Linked DNA regions of Homo sapiens: region 2 is linked to region 1. Evidence: promoter capture Hi-C in human tissues and cell types (Jung and others, 2019). All regions are on one chromosome and are shown on one strand. Each heading gives the region's core, a stretch centred on a gene start or on the middle of the fragment in contact. The rest is flanking DNA. Distances are from core to core; before and after follow the strand shown. Region 1 holds the start of HCN3 (hyperpolarization activated cyclic nucleotide gated potassium channel 3). Region 2 overlaps ASH1L (ASH1 like histone lysine methyltransferase).

Region 1 (7,369 bases), core at 2,966-5,465:
TGGCGGCGACACTGCGGCCGGAGTCCCGGCACCCCCGCGGCGACGAAATGCTGCTCCACCCCCCCAACCCGGGACCCTGGGACCTCCCGCCCCGTTCCCGGGCTCCGCTTCAGTCCCGCCCGCCCCGGCTCCGTCCCCGCCCCTAAGATCTGCTTGGCGCCGCTCGCACCGCCCCCGCCCGGGGCCCGATCCCAGCTCGGTCTCCGGCTCTGGCCTCTCCGCTCCGCCGCCGCCGCCGTGAGCGAGCACGTACGCACGGACCGACGTCCTGCGTCGCTTCCCAGCTACCCCCTGGGCTCCGCCCCCAGGACCGCGCGCGCCACCACGTGCTCACGTAGTTGGCAGGCATCCGCCTGTCAGAGCCTCGGAGGTACTGGGGGCGGAAGTTCATAGGGGCGAGGAGGGTCCACAGGGACAAGCTGGAAGCCTTCCAGGCCCGCTATGCCCCGCCTCCTGTCCTTTCCCACTCCGTCTTCAATCTTTTACCCTTTGCATGGAGACGTGTGGCTTAGTTAGGTTTGGAGTTTAAAAGAAAGGATTGTCATTGTCAATACAGTGTCGCTGCTCTGCAAGCCTGACTGTAGTGAGGCTTGATGGTGAAGTCTCATTCTTCTGCATAGCCTGAAAATAACCATTTCTTAAAACACTTCACCTACCTATCCCCAGGACAAAAGTCTGCCACCTTTTGTCATCAACAAAAGTTATGCACGACTCGGGGTGGGGACACAGCCATGGAGGAAAGGTTTGAGCAATGGAGGGTTGGAGAATCGGGTGCCGAAAAGGGGGACTTACTTGAGAACTGTATCCTAAGGTGGCTTACATAATGTGTGAGAAATACAAGTTTACTAGGGCCGGGCGCGGTGGCTCTCGCCTATAATCCCAACACTTTGGGAAGCCGAGGCGGGCGGATCACGAGGTCAGGAGTTCGAGATTAGCCTGATCAACATGGTGAAATCCCGTCTCTACTAAAAATACAAAAATTAGCCGGGCATGGTGGCGGGCGCCTGTAATCCCAGCTACTCAGGAGGCTGAGGTAGGAGAATCGCTTGAACCCGGGAGGCGGAGGTTGCAGTGAGCCGAGATCGGGCCATTGCACTGCAGCCTGGGTGACAGAGCGAGACTCTGTCTCAAAAAAAAAAAAAAAAAAAAAAAAAAGCGCGCATCACCACGCCCAGCTATTTTTTTTTTTCTTGTAGAGATAGTGCCTCACTTTGTTACCCAGGCTAGTCTTGAACCCCTGAGCTCAAGCAATCCTCCCCCATCGGCCTCCCAAAGTGCTGGGATTACAAGCATCAGCCACGGCGCTTGGCCAGTTTACTAAATCTTAAAAAAGAACAGGAAGGCTGGGCGAGGTGGCTCACGCCTGTAATACCAACACTTTGGGAGGCCAACGTGGGTGGATCACTTAAGCATAGGAGTTTGAGACAGCCTGGGCAACAGGGCAAAACCCAGACTCTTAAAAAAATACAAGGCCGGGCGCGGTGGCTCACGCCTGTAATCCCAGCACTTTGGGAGGCCAAGGCGGGCGGATCACGAGGTCAGGAGATCGAGACCATCCTGGCTAACACGGTGAAACCCCGTCTCTACTAAAAATACAAAAAATTAGCCGGGCGAGGTGGCGGGCGCCTGTAGTCCCAGCTACTCGGGAGGCTGAGGCAGGAGAATGGCGTGAACCCCAGGGGGCGGAGCCTGCAGTGAGCCGAGATTGCGCCACTGCACTCCAGCCTGGGCGACAGCGAGACTCCGTCTCAAAAAAAAAAAAAAAAAAAAAAAAAAAAATACAAAAATTAGGCCAAGCGCGGTGGCTCATGCCTGTAATCCCAACAGTTTTGGAGGCCCAGGAAGGTGGATCACTTGAGCACAGGAGTTCGAGACCAGCCTGGCCAACCTGGTGAAACCCTGTCTCTACTAAAAATACAAAAATTAGCCGGGTGTGATGGCAGGTGCCTGTAATCCCAGCTATTTGGAAGGCTGAGGCACGAGAATCGCTTGAATCCAGAAGGTGGAGGTTGCAGTGAGCCGAGATGGTGCCATTGCACTCCAGCCTGGGCGACAGAGTGAGACTGTGTCTAAAATAAAATAAAATAAAAAATAAAAATTAGCCATTCATGGTGTCTCCCACCTGTAGTCCCAGCTACTCGGGAGGCTGAGGTGGGAGGATCACCTGAGCCTGGGGAGGTTGAGGCTGTAGTGACCCGTGATCGTGCCACTGCACTCCAGCTTGGGCGACAGAGTGAGACTCTATCTCAAAAAAAAAAAAAAAAAAAAAAGAAAAGAAAAGAAAAAAAGAAAATGAGAAAGAGAAAGAGTTAGAGACTTTACAGAAGGAATTGAGAAGTGGTCAGAAAGGTCAATTGAAAGAGAAATAATATAATCTGAGAATAACGATATTAAAGTCAGGGAGCTGAGCAAGGTGGCTCACACCTGTAGTCCCAGCTACTCAGGAAACTGAGGTGGGAAGATTGCTTTGAGGCTGCAGTGGGTCATGATCACACCACTGCACTCCAGCTTGAGCAACAGAGCAAGACCCTGACTCTAGAATGAGTAAATAAATAAAGTCAGGAAATATTAGAGAGGAGCTGGATGAAGGATGGTCAGATGGAGGTTAGATCAGATAACCAGACATAGTTTAGAGAAGTTCCCTGGAATAGAACATGGAGAGCAATCAATGAAGGAGTCGGGGAGAGAGAAGTAAAGATTTCACTTCCACCTCCTGGAACATTTTCCTAGATTATTAATTCATTCAACAAGCATTTACTGAATGTCCACTATGTGTCCAGAATTATGCCAGGTGCAAGGTTCCTGTTTCTCAGAGTTTCACAATCTAACAGGAGAGAAAATCTGTAAATAAATAATGAGACCATGCTCATGCCTGTAATCCTAGCACTTTGGGAAGCCAAGGCAGGAAGATCACTTGAGCTCTGAGTTCAAAACCAGCCTGGGCAACATAGTGTGACCTCATCTCTAAAATAATAATAATAATGGTAGCCCTGTGACATGAGTTGCTCAAAACAGTGGTGCCCTGGCTGCTGTAAAAAAGCTCTAGAATAGACCCTACCTGAGGAAAGGAGAGTTGGAAATGTGTTCCTAGGTTTCCTAGAGAAAGCAAGATCTGAACCAACTGTTCGAAAGTGAATTGGAGGAGAATACCAGGCAGAGAAAATATTTGCAAAAGCATAGAGACAAGGCAGCACAAAGTCTTTCAGCATGATTGGGGCTGTGGCTTTCAAGAGAGGGACTGTCAGAAGAGAGACTGTTGAAACTAGGTCCAAATTTTTTGGGCCTGGTACACCATGCTAAGCAGCTTAAATGTACCCCTGTAGAAGATGGGAAAGCTTGATGGGCTTCAAGCAAGTGACACAGCCATAGTTGGATTTTAGGAAGGTAACTGGCAGGGAATGGAAGAAGAATTGGCCTGGAAGAGGTTGAAGACTCTTTTAGAGGTTTCCGAAGTAATTTAAGTGAAAAAATGCTGAGGGCTTGAAATGAGGCAGTGGTAATAAGAATTGGAGATGAAGGGGAGAATTTGAGATATTTAGGAATTTGTAGCACTTCGCATAGCACTGCAATTTACCTGTCTGTCGTTGGGCACAGATGAGCAGTGGCTTTATGGCTAGGCCTTTGTTTTTGTTTTGTTTTGTGTTGTTTTCCATTACTACATGGAGATGCTAAGACTAGGACTTTTGTATTCATTTTTGTTTCCTCAGCATCCACTCAATGACAGGCAGAGTTGCACTTGGTGAAGGCTGACAGAATGAATTAGGAAATTAAATACTAGGGGAAGCAGTTCGGAGGAGACCAAAAGACAAGAATATGCCTAGGACAGTGTTGAGAGAAGACGGGAGCAGGACAGAAGTCCCTGGGCGAGAGTGGAGAAGAATCCCAAAAGCCATTTCCACTTCTTCCATTGGTCCCCAATCCCTCTCCCTCCCAAGTCCTTCAAGCTACAAACCCGCGTCCGATTTTCCCGCCACTGCAGGGGGCTCCTCCTCCCTGGTTCTCAGTGGATGAAAGGCCAACGCTAGGCCACGCCCTCTCCCTGGCTCAGGCTGCGCTCCCCGCCTTCTTTGCTAAGCCACGCCCCTCTCGGAGTTCCTCCAGGATCCCGGCGTCCCAGCCCCGCCCGGTCTTGGCGCGGCCCTCGCCAGGGGGCGCCGCGCAGCCCGCCCGCCGCCCGCCAGTCTAGCACACACCCCCTCCGCCCCGCGCGCCGGCGATTCCGAGCCTACGACGCCTCCGCTAGAGCCCGCGGGGCTGCGCCGACTCCTGCTCTGGAGGGGTTGCGGGTACCTGATGGCCACAGAGGGCTCTAGGAGGCCGAGCGTGTAAGCGGGGTGGGCGCCATGGAGGCAGAGCAGCGGCCGGCGGCGGGGGCCAGCGAAGGGGCGACCCCTGGACTGGAGGCGGTGCCTCCCGTTGCTCCCCCGCCTGCGACCGCGGCCTCAGGTCCGATCCCCAAATCTGGGCCTGAGCCTAAGAGGAGGCACCTTGGGACGCTGCTCCAGCCTACGGTCAACAAGTTCTCCCTTCGGGTGTTCGGCAGCCACAAAGCAGTGGAAATCGAGCAGGAGCGGGTGAAGTCAGCGGGGGCCTGGATCATCCACCCCTACAGCGACTTCCGGTATTGGGGGCTTGGCGGGGAGGGCAGGGTACATCAATCCCACCCTCGCGGGCAGCGACACCGGGACCCGGCCCGCCCCACCCTCCACGGTCACTTCATTTCCAGCCCGGGGTCCCTTGGTGGGGCGGGAGAGTCACTTGCACCAGTCTAGCCTGGGAATTCCTGGGCGGGTATCCCCTGCCGGAGGTCCTCCGTGCCTGGACAGGCTGGGGGCACCAGAAGGGGCAAGCAGACATCAGGGGATCTCCAGAGACCTGGATTTCCTCTTTCAGGAACCCGGGACCCCATCCGGACCAAAGGAACTACCAGAGTTTGGGACCCCTGCCTCCTCCAGTCCTGCTTGCTGGAGATCTAGGAAATTATATTCTAAGTATCGGGGCCAGTCTGAGGGAGAAGCCGAGCTCCGCCATCTCCCATCCCCACACCCGCTCCTTAGCACCTGCCTAGTTCAGCATGACAGACTACCAGGAAAAATAGGGACGCTGAAGGGGGCGGGGGGTCCAGACCTCAGCTCTGGTCGCTGTCCCTAGTGCTGAAGGCGGGGGCGGCGGGGCGGGGCCGAGACTCAGAGTGACTGAGGCGGCAAAGCAGGGGCAGGACCACCACCCAGGTGACTCCCAGAGAAGGAACAGAGGGTGGGGGTGGGGCCATTTCACAGTCTCCGTCAGGGTGTACCTCTACATCAAGGTCGCTAGGGGAAGACAGCAGCCCTGTCCTTGGGGGAAATGAAGGACAGCTCTTGGATGAGGCAGGGATGTGTGCAAAGCACCTAACCTGGGGAACTAAAGAAGCAGAGAGGAAGAGGTGTGAATCTGGAGCCTCGAAATACAGTTGTAGACCCAGACATTATCTTGAATCCACATATATACACACTCCCTCTATGTCTCTCTTCCTCCCATTGTTCCTTTCACTCCTGTCTTTGCTGCCTCGTTCCCACCCAGCCAGTGCGCCTTTTCTAGTCTCCTGTGGATCTCACTCTCTTCCCTCAGTTCACTCGCAGACGGATCCCCAGAAGCCTGGTATCCCTCTGATTGTGCTTCTCCATTCTCTATACTACATCACCCGCCAGGCTTGTGACCCACCTGTGAGTCAGGCTGTGAAGATGCTTTCATGGCTAGGCGAACCCTCTTTCCCTCCCCTCTCTTAGTGTCTCACAATACAGGATTCCTCCTCAGCAGCCGAGGAGAGAAAAGAAGAATGGCCGAGGGTTTTTGTTTATTGAAAACATACAGTCTAAGGGGCTTCCCAGAGGCCCGGACTTGAGGAAGTTTCTTTCAGGGCTGAAAATTGATTTTGCAGTCCGAGTCAGAAGGGGCTAGCTCCTGAGTTGACACTGGGATTAGGTGTGTCCTAGAATTAAAACCACCATAGGTAACTGAGTCCCTGAGATTTTCCTGTGCCATTCTCTGAATGAGGGCTTCACACAGTTCCCTCTTGACCTCTTCTTTCCACGGTGTCTGCCACAGCAATGTCACTCACCCCTGCCCATGCCTCTGCCTGTGCTCAGCCAGAGTCCCAGTGGACACAGGGAGGCCAGAGGAGGAAAGGTATGCAGAACTCAAGCCTTGCTGCTTCATGATCTCCTGTGGAGCTTCTCTGTGTGTGCAGCCCTGTTTGAGGTTCTGTGGAGGGGGAAGGGCATCCCTGGAAAGCTCAATTCAGAGGAAGGCAGGATAGACCACCCCACCCTGAGACATGGATGAGCAAACCTCAGCAGAGGAACAGGATCCGTGGGTCCAACTGTGTTGGAGAAGAGGAATGGGGTGGAGAAGGCTGGGGAGGGCATGAGGTCCTAGACTAGAATGGGCAGATAACTGGAGATGGGGGAAGCAGCAGCCTTTTCAGAAATCTGGGGATAAAGAGTGAGTGAGTCATAATACCAACTAGTGCCTGTACCACACTGTCACATCTATTGTCTCCATGTAAATGTTTTCAGCAATGCTGTGAGATTAGCACAGGATACTTTAGCTTTTTTTTTTAACCTTAAAAATATTTAGCAATGGTGAGGTAAATGATATATAGTAGGGATATGTATGTAGATGGAAGAGTAATTTTATTTATTTATTTATTTATTTTTATATTTGTTTATTTATTTTGAGAAGGAGTCTCACTGTGTCGCCCAGGCTGGAGTGCAATGGCACAATTTTGGCTCACTGCAACCTCCGCCTCCCGGGTTCAAGCGATTCTTCTGCATCAGCCTCCTGAGTAGCTGAGATTACAAGCGCATGCCACCACGCCTGGCTAATTTTTGTATTTTTAGTAGACGTGGGGTTTCACCATTTTGTCCAGGCTGGTCTCGAACACTTGACCTCGTGATCCACCCACCTCAGCCTCCCAAAGTGCTGGGATTACAGGTGTGAGCCACCACACCGGCAAATTTTTATTTATTTATTTATTTTATTTATTTATTTATTTTGAGACAGAGTCTCACTCTCGCCCAGGCTAGAGGGCAGTGGAGCGGTTTCAGCTCACGGCAACCTTCACTCCCAGGTTCAAGCAATTCTCCTGCCTTGGCCTCCTGAATATCTGGGATTGGGATTACAGGTGCGCGCCACCACACCTGGCTAATTTTTTTTTTTTTTTTTTGAGACGGAGTCTCGCTCTGTCGCCCAGGCTGGAGTGCAGTGGCACAATCTCGGCTCACTGCAAGCTCCGCCTCCCGGGTTCACGCCATTCTCCTTCCTCAGCCTCCTGAGTAGCTGGGACTACGGGCGCCCGCCACCATGCCCAGCTAATTTTTTGTATTTT
Region 2 (7,369 bases), core at 2,302-4,801, 190 kb after region 1:
TAGCAGAATAGATAAAATTCTCACTGATAATAGTGTCTGCAGTGGTGGAGGCATCCCAAAGAAATCATGAGAATAAAGATTCAACTAACTACTCATTGAAGCCCTGAGCATCCTAGCCTAGAAAAACAAGGAATTTCCCTGGTGCCAAATACAAATTAGCAAAAAAAAAAAAAAAAAAAAAAACAGTGAATTAAATCAATAGTTGGTTGGACAAAACATATGTTTCTTTAGCCTAAGTTCACTATTAAAGCTTTTATAACTTAATATAGTATGAATTTTAGTCACACTCTGGAGATCAACACTAAAGACACAAGTAACTAAGAAATCATTTATATGAGTGGAATGTTTGATGTTTGCAATGCTAGAAATATCTTTGGGTGAATTACAGAAAAATAAATTAAGTATGCTAATTTGGAAGAATGCTATGCAGTAGTCAGTTCTAAGATATTATCGATTTTAAAATAATTTACTTTAAAAGTTTCTAACACTGAAATTGTTCCTTCCCACCAAAATTAAATTGTTACAAAAGTTTAGTTTTAAAAAAGATTTCTCTTCTTTCATTATTTATAAGTCAAAGCTATTTGGGAATGTGTGTTAAACAACGACTGAACCAAAATTGGTTGTAATAAAAATGGCTACCATAGTAAAGGAATATGAACATAAAATATCAAACTATTTGAGAACTTCTGGTCAAGATTTTTTTTGTTCCCAGATTCAAGTTCTGAATCCTTTGGTATGGTTCACAGTTGATAGCCACCTTGGAACCTTCTTGTGAATGAGCTGAATGCTAAGGTAAAAGCTGGGTCCACAATAAAAACAGCTGTTTTCAATTGTGGGAAATACAGAAAGCAATACATTTTATCTGATGCACCAACTAAATGCACTACAAGAGAGTATGACTCAGAGCCTGTTCTGGCGATTTTTAAGCTATAAAGTCTGTTTTGGCCGGGCGCTGTGGCTCATGTCTGTAATCCCAGCACTTTGGAAGGCCGAGGCAGGCAGATCACGAGGTCAGGAGATTGAGACCATCTTGGCTAACACGGTGAAACCCCGTCTCTACTAAAAATACAAAAAATTAGCCAGGCGTGGTGGCGGGCACCTGTAGTCCCAGCTACTTGGGAGGCTGAGGCAGGAGAATGGCATGAACCCGGGAGGCAGAGCTTGCAGTAAGCCAAGATAGCACCACTGTACTCCAGCCTGGGCGACAGAGTGAGACCCCGTCTCAAAAAAACAAAACAAAACAAAACAAAACAAAAACTCTGTTTTTTTCTCTAACTAGGCTATTTTTCATAATGCCCAAATGACATCATTCACTGAAATGGAATTCTTCTGGAAATTCCCCTAACTGCACTAACCACACCACAAACAATTTTCTTTCATCTCTGTAGGTTCACACTTCCTTTATAGGCATATCTTTTTTCTATCATGTTTTAAATCTTTTTAAAATTGATACATAATAGTTGTACATATTTATTGGGTACATGTGATATTTTGTTACATGTATAGAATGTATAAGAATCAGGTCAGAGTATTTTGGGTATCCATCACCTTGCGTAGTTATGATTTCTGTGTCAGGAACATTTCAAGTCCTCTCTTCTAGCTATTTTTGAAAAACACAATATTGTGCTGTCACCTATAGTCACCCCACCCTGCTACTGAACATCTGAACTTATTCCTTCTAACTGTTGCATAGGTGTGTCTTATAAACAGCACTAGAGAAATTGTTTGAGATCAGTATATTCTGATCAAAGCTTATACTCTTCAGTTAAAGAGAAAACTCAGTATTCTTTGCTTCAATCTATATGCTTGTACAGTGAATATACTTTTTCCAAAAAAAAAAGGTTTAAGCCTCACTTATTCTTGGAGGACAAAATATTCATCATCACTGAATGCACCAAATAATGTATATAATTTACATGTAGTAAATCATTTATAATAATGTTCCATTGTCTGCTTGTTCTATGACTTGTAAGCTATAAATGCTAAATGAAAATACTCCATTCTACTGCTCTGCCAATTTTAGAATCCAGGTTTGTAAGTTCTGTCATGTGTAGCCAGCCATGAGTCACATATGCTGAAAAACAGGGATGAAATAACTGACATTCCAGGTCAGAAACTCTTGCTCATCCAAGTCAGAAACTCTTGCCCATGAGACCTATTTCATGTCTACCTAACATACATACATAAATTAAATAGAATCACTATCAGGATTGGGAGAAACCAGGAAACCTGGCCTTACTTAAGTGTGTAATTTTACTGTAATTTCACTTGCATCAAGCTGATTTTATAGCTGTTAGTCTGTACAGTACAGAACAGTATATGTTAGAAAAATAAGCTAACTACCATATGCACATAATTTATAAAAGTGATTATAGCTGTTATTCCTTTTAAGTCTTCATAAGATTTAATTTTACAGTGAATATACTTGTTTACTTTAAAAATGCTCAAAGTGATAAGTCAGTTTGATTCCCCATTTTTGAAACAAGGAGAGAAGGGTTAAATGCCTTGGTCCAAGCTACACATTCCAGTGTCCCTAATCTGGTTTCATTTATTTTTCCTGAAATTTATATCAACATGATTTATCAAATATGCCTGTTTTACCCCCAACCAACACTTATGAGGAATCCACTCAATACAAATAGTAAATAACCTTTATTTCTTATTTCATCAATTATCAGTTTGAGATATGTTTTACTTAACAATTTGTATTCTGCTGTATTAAAAAAACTCATTATTCTGGAATAAATTCAGATTTACATAAAAGTTACAAAGATAGTACAGAGAATACTCGTATGTCCTTTACCCAACATCCCCCAATGTTAACATCTTACATAACTACAGTACATTTGTCACAACCAAGAAATTAATATTGGAATAATACTATTAACAAAATTCCAGACTTTGTTTAGATTTAGCCAATTTTTTTCCACTCATGTCCTTTTTTCACTGTCAATCTGGGATATCACATTGTATTTAGTTGTCATGTCTCCTTAGTCTTCTCTGTTCTGTAAAAGCTTCTCAGACTTTCCTTGTTTTTTCAGGTCCTTGATACTTTTTAGTACTGGTCAAGTATTTGTAGAATGCCCTTTATTATTATTATTATTTTTTTTTTCTGCTTAGATTTAACACATTCTATCAGAGAGTACATGATATCACCATGCCTTATCATTGGTGAAGTTAACCTTGAACTTGGTTAAGGTGCTGTCTGCCAGGCCTCTTCACTGTAAAGTTACTGCTTTTCCCTCTTCATACTCTGTTCTTTAAAAGTCAGCAGTCCAGTCCATATTCAAGAAGAGGTAAATTAAGTTCCACCTCCTGAAAGTGTGTTCTACATATATTATTTGGAATTTTTCTGTAAGGAAGATTTGCTTCTTTTCTGCCAAGTATTTATTTAGTCAATCATTTATTTAAATCAACATGGATTTATAGATATTGACTTTATTTTTTAGGTTATAATCCAATCCTCTCATATTTATTTTGTTGCTCAAACTGTCCCAGCTTGGACCACTGGGAGACATTTCAGGATAATAATATCCTGAAGGTGATCAACAATATTGCAATACCTATTATACAGTAGGTAGTTTTGGGAGCATTTTAACATGATACCAAATGTAAAATGAATCTACCTTAAATTTATATATGGAAAAAATCAACTGAAGACCGAGAAGATCACTTAAAAATCATATGTAATTATGTATTTCTTAAACCTTTATACTTCAAAAAGCAACCTGACATCACAGATTGAGAAAATGTAATTACATCTTCAACAGAATGCTATAGAATAACAATGTCATTGTAAGGAAAAAGCAAATAATAAACCAGTCAGAAGTGCTACAAAAGAAAACACTGAGGAAAAAATAGCAAAATGTAAAGGTGTAAGAATTTTAATTGTCTGCATTTCCTAACTTCCATTCCTCAGCCTCCAGAAATCTAACATTTGCCACTATACAAATGGCTCTCAGACACAAGACAAACTAACCGCCAAAGCCAATCATCCACTTTCAGTACTTACCTAACCAATCTCCCATAACACTTGACACTCTTTTTTTTAATTAATTAATTTTTTTTTTTTGAGACGGAGTTTCTCTCCTTGCCCAGGCTGGAGTGCAATGGCGTGATCTCAGCTCACCACAACCTCCACTTCCCAGGTTCAAGCAATTCTCCTGCCTCAGCCTCCTGAATAGCTGGGATTATAGGCATGTGCCACCACGTCCGGCTATTATTTGTATTTTTAGTAGAGATGGGGTTTCGTCATGTTGGTAAGGCTGGCCTTGAACTCCCGACCTCAGGTGATCTGCCCGCCTCAGCCTCCCAAAGTTCTGGGATTACAGGCGTGAGCCACCACGTCCACCCACTTGACACTCTTGACTATAATAAACTCACTTAAGAAACCCACTGAATTCACCATAAATATTGTCATTCCTTCTCATAGCCTTAATAATAAAGTATCTATAATTATCTTCAGGTTTTACCTCTCCTTTGAGCTACAGATCCATCTGTCCTACAAAACAGGCTTGAAATCCAAATTTATTACCTATTTCCAACCTTATCCTTTTGCATATCTCATTTCACTTAATCACATCATCTCTACCTTGGCTCAGAGCCTCATAATAAGAGCCTCATAATATTTTGTGGGAGCAGTTTCCAAACTGATCTACCTGATCTCTTTTCACTAATCCATCTATCACACTGCTGTCAATGTAATCTCAACAAATTATTCCCCATCTTAAAACCCTTAACTTCTCATACCTTATAAAGTAAACTCTATACTCTTGGGAGTCTCATATAAACGAGGACTTTATGATCTGCCTATCTTTCCAGTCCCATCTCTTGGGTCCCATATCAAACCATTAACACTTAACTAAGCACAGTAACACATCCCCATGCCCTTGCAAAGCTGATATCTAGTGTAAGAAACACGTGTCACACATTATTCTTCGCTGCTAAATTCAAAACTCCCTCCTCCTTCCCAAGACCTTTAAAGTCAGTCCCTCACTTCTCTGCTCCCCAAAATGCCTTGTAAGTATCTCAATATTAAGAACCGTCAGGCTGTGCGCGGTGGCTCACACCTGTAATCCCAGCACTTTGGGAAGCCGAGGCGGGTGGATCACCATAGGTCAGGAGTTCGAGACCAGCCTGGTCAACATGGTGAAACTCCGTCTCTACTAAAAACACAAAAATTAGCTGGGCATGGTGGCACACACCTGTAATCCCAGCTACTCAGGAGGCTGAGGCAGGAGAATTGCTTGAGCCTGGGAGGCGGAGGTTGCAGTAAGCCAAGATTGTGCCACTGCACTCCAGCCTGGCCAACAGAGTGAGTCTGTCTCAAAAAACAAAAAACAAAAAAAAACAAAAAAAAAAACTGTCAATAACTATTCATATACATGTCTAAACTATAAATCAACTTTAAAGCAGAAATTACCTTTTTTTTTTTTTTTCTGAGACAGAGTCTCGCTCTGTTGCCCAGGCCGGAGTGCAATGGTGCAATCTCGGCTCACTACAATCTCCACCTCCTGGGTTCAAGTGATTCTTGTGCCTCAGCCTCCCGAGTAGCTGGGACTACAGGCATGTGCCACCATGCCTGGCTAATTTTTGTATTTTTAGTAGAGGCAGGGTTTTACCATGTTGGCCAGGCTGATCTCGAACTCCTAACCTCAAGTGGCCCACCCACCTCGGCCTCCCAAAGTGCTGGAATTACAGCATGTTCCTTCTCCTGGCACACAATAGGCACAAAATAACTGTTTGCTGAAAGAACAGCTACCATCATAAGGGAATAGTTAAGAATAAAAATCAAATACATAAAATACTCCTAAACAAAACCAGTTCTGACTTTCAAAGGGATCAAAACAAAAGATATCTGAGCCTGAATTAATATTTTTATTTAGTATTCTGCTTAACTAAAAACTTTTCCTCGACTGGTTTTTGTTAAGACAACTAAACCTATTCTCACATCTACCTGAAAAAAGTATATTAAGTTTCTATTAGAAAATCAAGTCACATCTCCATGTACTTATCAACAGTAATTGTGAAGAAGATGGAGAGATTCCAAGATAGAGAACAATTAACAAAAGAATTTAGACTTATGATCAAGTAAAGAATATAGCTGGTCTTTGTCCCTGGTTCCTGGCACAGAGTTTCAAAAACCCTTGTAATTACCCAAGTGACAGGAATGTCTCTGTTACGACAGTGAGATGAAAGCCTGAGGTAACTTCAAGATGGGGGCCGGTGACCAGAAAGACCAAATCACATAATTAAAAATCTGAAACTTTGGGTCACCCCAACCTCAAGGGAGTGGAGAACTGAAAATTGAATTAAAAAACATGGCCAATGATCTAATCAATCCGGCCTACCTAACAGAGCCCCAATAAAAACTCTGGACACTGAGGTTCACTGGAGCTTCCAGGTTGGTGAATATAGTGATGTGCTGGGAGGGCAATGTGCCCGGATTCCACAAGGGGAAAGGCATGGAGGTCTGTGGACCCTTCTTGCACCAAACACTGCTCTATGTATCTCTTCAACTAGTTGTTCTTGATCTGCATCCTTTGTAACAAAACTGTAATCATACTATAGTGCTTTCACAAGTTCTGTGAGTCCTTTTAACAAGTTACCAAAATTGAGGGGGTTGCACGAAGTTGCAAATTTTTAGCAGGCCAGGCAGAAGTATGGATGTCTCAGGAACACCAAAATTTGTGACTGGCATCTGCAGTCTCATGATGAACTCTGCTCTTAACTTGAGGTCTTCACTAGCTTCAGGTAATTTGTATTCAGAATTGAACTAAATTGTACAACATCCAATTGGTGATAGAGAACTAGTGTCAGAGCAGTGACTTCAGAGAGGTCTTTGTGGTTTCTGTATGTTATTTTATAAAGAAGAAAAAAAGCCAAGTGCAGTGGCTCACACCTGTAATCCCAGTACTCTGGAAGGCTGAGACAGGTGGTTCTCTTGCGGTCAGGAGTTTGAAACTAGCCTGGCCAATACAGTGAAACCCCGACTCTACAAAAAATTCAAAAATTAGCCAAATGTGGTGGTGCACTTCTGCAATCCCAGCTACTCGGAGGCTGAGGCAGGAGAACAGCTTGAACCCAGGAGGCGGGTTTTGCAGTGAGCCTAGATTACGCCACTGAACTCTAGCCTGGATGACAGAGAGAGACTCCATCTCAAATAAATAAAGAAGGAAATTTTTAAAAAGACAAATTCGTACTTAACACAGGTACTTTTGCATAAACTTCCCTGCTATCTTTCTCATTCCCCAAGGACCCTGAAACCAGGTTCACATCCACCATTTTCACCCCAACTTCTGTAACTGTCCTCTTGGGTAATTTCAATGTCCATGTAGATGATACATTCAACATCCTAACCTGTCATCTC

Evidence for each region. The method cuts DNA at HindIII sites, captures the fragments that hold promoters and counts their contacts. A contact is called where the count stands out against the background at its distance.
Region 2: a fragment that was not itself captured here is called in contact with the fragment with the promoter of HCN3 in region 1 in 2 of the 25 tissues and cell types used here (dorsolateral prefrontal cortex and spleen).

Annotation. Positions count from the first base shown.
Region 1 is chr1:155,273,248-155,280,616 of GRCh38, forward strand. It overlaps HCN3 (hyperpolarization activated cyclic nucleotide gated potassium channel 3), which reads left to right and starts at 4,216. Exons shown (of 8, transcript NM_020897.3): 1 at 4,216-4,621. The coding sequence starts at 4,344. CLK2 (CDC like kinase 2) reads right to left here and starts at 257. Exons shown (of 13, transcript NM_001294338.2): 1 at 1-257. RefSeq lists an enhancer at 850-1,350. The HindIII fragment of the contact is 20,767 bases long and covers 1,547-7,369 here.
Region 2 is chr1:155,465,130-155,472,498 of GRCh38, forward strand. All of the region lies in intron 3 of ASH1L (ASH1 like histone lysine methyltransferase), which reads right to left. Among named protein-coding and RNA genes, the nearest start is that of ASH1L-AS1, 93 kb to the right of the region's middle. The HindIII fragment of the contact is 5,103 bases long and covers 1,001-6,103 here.